2 separate regions of the Homo sapiens genome follow, and region 2 is linked to region 1. The links are contacts of gene promoters, found by promoter capture Hi-C in human tissues and cell types (Jung and others, 2019). All regions are on one chromosome and are shown on one strand. Each heading gives the region's core, a stretch centred on a gene start or on the middle of the fragment in contact. The rest is flanking DNA. Distances are from core to core; before and after follow the strand shown. Region 1 holds the start of IFT88 (intraflagellar transport 88). Region 2 overlaps IFT88 (intraflagellar transport 88).

The links. Contacts are between HindIII fragments. The study calls those that stand out against the background at their distance.
Region 2: a contact is called between a fragment that was not itself captured here and the fragment with the promoter of IFT88 in region 1, in 2 of the 25 tissues and cell types used here (hippocampus and mesenchymal stem cells).

The regions. Positions count from the first base shown.
Region 1 is chr13:20,565,749-20,568,448 of GRCh38, forward strand. IFT88 (intraflagellar transport 88) reads left to right here and starts at 1,409. Exons shown (of 26, transcript NM_006531.5): 1 at 1,409-1,508. It overlaps LOC105370103 (a long non-coding RNA gene), which reads right to left and starts at 1,281. Exons shown (of 6, transcript XR_941725.3): 1 at 928-1,281. RefSeq lists silencers at 1,109-1,518, 1,614-1,802. The HindIII fragment of the contact is 1,600 bases long and covers 49-1,648 here.
Region 2 is chr13:20,611,210-20,614,049 of GRCh38, forward strand. All of the region lies in intron 13 of IFT88 (intraflagellar transport 88), which reads left to right. It also overlaps the pseudogene RNU2-7P. Among named protein-coding and RNA genes, the nearest start is that of IFT88, 45 kb to the left of the region's middle. The HindIII fragment of the contact is 6,832 bases long and covers 1-2,840 here.

The DNA of each region.
Region 1 (2,700 bases), core at 159-2,658:
TGAGGCCAACCCACCTTGTGGAGGACCAACTGCTTTACTCAAGTCTAATTTAACTGTTAATCACATCTTAAAAAATACCAGCTATCATAGTACTCCAGAACAAAGGCAGTCAGTGTCTCTGCTCACAAAACACGGGAAAGTGCAGGTGACCCATGGAGAATTGTCCCCCAACACTATGTTTTTTCTTTTTTTGGATGGAGTTTCGCTCTTGTCACCCAGGCTGGAGTGCAATACCACCATCTTGGCTCACTGCAACCTCTACCTCCTGGGTTCAAGAGATTCTCCTGCCTTAGCCTCCTGAGTAGCTGGGATTTATTACAGGCGCCTGCCACCTCGCCGGGCTAATTTTTGTATTTTTAGTAGAGACAGGGTTTCACCACGTTGGCCAGGCTGGTCTCCAACTCCTCACCTCAGGTGATCCGCCAGCCTCAGCCTCCCAAAGTGCTGGGATTATAGGCATGAGCCACTGCGCCCGGCCAACACTACTTATTTTATAAAAACTCATTAATTACTGGTGTCTTTAGACTCCCTCTGTCCCTCCCCTCCATCCCCAACATTTACTTTTAAAATTTAAGACAAAACTTAAACATTAAACAATTATGAATTTAATTCCCCCATTTATATTACATTGATTAAGCTTTACACTATGACCCAGGTTCTAGGTGGTTGGGACACAATGGTTCAATCCCTGTCTAGTAAATAAAACGGACACCTTAAGCGCTACAATCAAGGTGCGCACGGGGTGCTACAGAACAATACGCAGACAGGAGGAGGTGGGGGGAAAGGTGAGACTTCCCAGGCAGGTGTCATCCCAGAATAACTTTTACACAGGGTGACTAAGCGAGTTAGTGACTGCGCGGAAAACGGGCTTCCAAGGTTCACAAGGCTCGTGCTGCGGCTCCGGGAGTTATGTCACAGTAAGCTTACTATCATCCTTTGGGCATCTGCTTTACGGATGAGTTCATCAGGATTTAAAGGATCTTGGTTCCATATCCTTCCCCTTCCTCACAGAGGCCGCCAGCCCGGAGCCCCTCTAGGCCCTCCTCCCTCCTGCATCTACTGGCCGCGAGCCTTTCCCTCCCCGCCCCCTTCACACAGGCCGCCCCCAGCCTCCCAACCCCCCGGTTCCGTTCCACGGGAGGCCCCGGCCTCCCTGCCCTCTCCTCCACCGTTCTACCCGCATCGCCCGGCTTCCCGCAAGCCGCTGGCACCGTCCCCTCAACACCCTCCGCCCACCGCCACTCCCTTCCACTGAGGGGGACCGGGCTGCCTTCTCTCTGACCCGCCGTTCTCCGCCCCCACCCACTTCCCCAGGCCTCCCGCACCACCCCCTTCCCGCCGCGCTCTCTCCCGCCCCCGCGCTTCCGGCCCCGCCCGCCCCCGCGCGGAGGACTGTGGGAGCGGCTTCCTTGGATTCCGCGCTTGGCAACGGCTCGGCGTCGCGCTTTGGCCAACCGCTGCGTCGTCCCTGGGCCCGAATAACTGTCGCCCGCTTCCCTCAGCGTGAGGTAGGAGAAGGGCGCTGGGGCCTAGTGCCTCAGGGCCCCTGGCAGCCGTGCCCCTGCGGCGTCCTGTGTGGCGCATCCCGCCGAGGGCCTCTTCGCCCGTCTCCTGCCCGCCCCTGTCGGCCCCGGGGCGGTCTGAGGCGGGGCCCCAGATGGACTCGGCCTGCCCCTGCTTTTCTTCCTCAGGCTCCCGAGTTGTCTACTCAGAAACGCGGGCGTTGTTTCTCACATCGGTGTCCCCAGCTCACAGGCTTTTCTTGCTCCTCTGAACTGGGACGGGCGTCGCTGACCGCTTGGCGATGTCCCAAGTCCCAGTCACGCCTGACGGGGAAACTTAAAACCCAGTTAGATTACTGCGCCAGCTCTGGAATCGCACAGCAGAGATGGTGCACATCGCTCTTTAATTTTCTTGTTAGGTGAAGCACTTCAAATTGCCTGATGAAAGTTGAATCAGGAATGAAGATAAAAGTACACAACAATGCAGAAAGCGGTACTTAGCCTCACAAAGATGGAAACATTCCAAAAACGTGAAGTACTGTTGTCCCAAGATTCTTTCTAAGCCTAAAATTACACTTTTACTAGTCCGATTTTCTGGTTGTGAGTTTTTTTTGTTTGTTTTTTTTTTTTCGAGAAACTGCAGTAGGCTTCTTGGAAGTAGACCAAGGGTGTCCAATCTTTGGCTTCCCTGGGCCACATCGGAAGAAGAATTGTCTTGGGCCACACATGAAATTCACAAACACTAAGGTAGCCGATGAGCTTTAAAAAAAATCGCAAAAAAGAATCTCATAATGCTTCCAGAAAGTTTACGAATTTGTGTTGGGCCACATTCAAAGCCGTCCTGTGCCACGTGCGGGCCGGGGTTGGAAAAGCTTGAAGTAGACTGTCCATAGTCAGTAGAAGAGTATTAAAAAACATACCTTTCACTTAAAAAAAAAAAAGGTTTTGCCAGCATTTGATTTATATTAAACATAGGTGGCATCATCCCCAGATTATTTCAACATGGAAAAGTTTGTTACATGTATAAGCTGCTTTGGAAATTGCCTGGAGAATCCAGAAACCCTGGGTTGTATAACAACAGTTGTTCTGCCACCCATAGCTATTAGCCATGCTTGATTCCCTTCAACTTTCCTGGCCTCACTTTCCACATCTTTTAATATTTGTATGTTCCACAAGATGTCTATTCAACTAAAGTCTC
Region 2 (2,840 bases), core at 213-2,712, 46 kb after region 1:
TCAAGATTAAAAACAAAAAGTCCAACAAGAAACAAGTAGAAAGGAAGTTCCCCAATTTGATAAAGTACATCTGTGACAAACTCACGGCTAACATCATACTTAATGGAAAGAGACTAAATGCTAGCCTGGGCAACATGGCAAAACTCTGTCTCTACAAAAAAATACAAAAATTAGTCAGACATGGTGATATGCACTGTAGTCCCAGTTATTTGGGAGAATTGCTTGAGCCTGGGAGGTGGAGGTTGCAGTGAGCCAAAATTGTGCCACTGCACCCCAGCCTGGGAGACAGAGCATGACCCAGTCTCAAAAAAAAAAAAAAAAAAAAAAAAAAAGACTGAATGCTTTGCACCTAAGATCAGGAACAAGATAGGGATATCCGACTTTTACCAGTTTTTTGTTTTGTTTTGTTTTCTGAGATGGAATCTTGCTCTGTTGCCCAGGCTGGAGTGCAATGGCACAATCTCAGCTCACTGCAACCTCCGCCTCCTGGGTTCGAGCGATTCCCCTGCCTCAGCCTCCTGAGTAGCTGGGACTACAGGCGCCTGCCACCATGCCCGGCTAATTTTTTGTATTTTTAGTAGACATAAGGTTTCACCGTGTTGGCCAGGCTGGTCTTGAACTCCTGACCTCAGGTGATCCACCCACCTTGGCCTCCCAAATTGCTGGGATTACAGGCATGAGCCACCGCACCCGGCCCACTTTCACCAGTTCTGTTCATCATTGAACTGGAAGATTCTATCTTTGGCAGTTTGCAAAACAAATAAACTTAAAACTGGAGTTAAAGACATCCAGATTAGAAAGGAACAGTTTAAACCATCTTTTTTCAGATGACATGATCTTGTACATAGAAAATCCTAAGGAATCAACTTTAAAACTGTTAGAATAAATGAGGTTGTAGAGTAAAAAAAAATCAATATACAAAAATCAATAGTGTAGTGCAGAAATATATTAATATCTTCTCAGCCGTGTGGCTGAGATGAAGTGTAGTATTTGTATATCTGATGCTTCCGCTATCCAAGGACAATCTGTTAAATGGATTTTTGGAGCAGGGAGATTGAATAGGACCTTGCTCCATCTGCTGTATGCATTGACCTGGTAGTGCAGTAACTCCAGGAACTGTGCACCCCCTCAGGAAGAAAAGAAGAAATACACTATACACTACCCATGAATTATCCCAAAAATGAAATTAACATTTATAATTGCATAAAAATTATTAGGAATAAATTTAATGAAAGAAATGCAAAACCTAAACTCTGAAAACCATAAAACATGGGAAGAATATAAAGATACTAAATAAATTATGTCGTATTTTTATGGATAGGCACTTAATGTTATTAAAATGGCAGTGCTCCCCAAATTAATGTACAGATTCAGTGCCACCCTTGTCAAAATTCCAGCAACATTTTTACAGAAAGTGACAAATTGATCCTAAAACTCATATGGAAATGGAAGGGAACCAGAATGGCCCAAACAGTGTTGAAAAAGAAAAGCAAAGTTGGGACTCAAACTAGAAAGCAACATTGATGAAGACACTGTGAAGACAGAGGCATAAATGAATGGAATGGAATTGAGAGACAAGGAAAAAACTCTTACGTTTATAGCCAGTGGAGGTGCCAGGAAAATTTAAGAGAAGAAAGGAGAGTCTTTTCAACAAATTGTGCTGGGAAAAGTGGATATTCTCTTGCAAAAGAATGAAGTTGTACATCTCTTTCACACCATACACAAAAATTAACTAAAATGAACTATAGACCTAAATGTAAGAGCTAAAACTATAAAATTGTTAGAAAAAGAAGAGAAATATCATTGACTGTCGGTTAAGCAAAGGTTTTGTAGATATGACACCAAAAGCACAAGTGACATAAGAAAAAAATAGATAAATTGGACGTTATCAAAATTAAAAACTTATGTACTTCAGAGGACGCTATCCAGAGAGTGAAAAAATGACCTACTGAATGGGAGAAAATATTTGCAAATGATGTATCTGAGAGGGGACTTATTTCTAGACTATATAAGTAATGTCCAACTCAATAATAAAAAGGCCAATAGCCCAATTAAAAATGTGCAAAAGATATGAATAGATATTTCTTCAAAATAGATACACAGATGCCCAATACACACATGAAAAGATGCTGAACTTCAGTAATTGCTAGGGAAATGCAGCTGAAAACTGCAGTGAGATACTACTTCACACCTACTAGTATGCTATAATAAAAAAGAAAATAACAAGTATTGGTAAGAGTGTGGAGAAATTGGAACTCTTAAATGCTGATGGTAGGAGTATAAAATGGTGCTTTGTAAAACAGCATACAAGTGCCCCAAAAGGTTAAGCATAGACTTACCATATAACCCAGCAATTTTACGTCTAGATATTTACCCAAAAGTAATCAGAGTATATGTCCACATGACAACTTGTATACAGATTTTCTTAGTGATATTATTCATAATATCGAAAAATAGAAATAATCCAAATGTGCAACAATTAATGAAGGTATAAATAATATATGGTCTATCCATAATATGGGATGTGATTCAGCCATACAAAGGAATGAAGTACTGATACGTGCTGTTAGGTTGGTGCAAAAGTAATTGCGATTTTTCCCATTGAATGCAATTGCTTTTGCACCAACCAATACAATACAGATGAACCTTGAAAACATGATAAATGAAAGAAGCCAGTCACAAAAGACCACGTTTTATGATTCTGTTTATATGAAAGGTATAAATTAGGCAAATCTATAAAGATTTGCCAGGGAGTGTCTGCTAATGGATATTATGTTTCTTTTTGGGATGATGAAAATGTTTCAAAAGTGATTGTGGTGCTTGTTGCACAAATCTGTGAC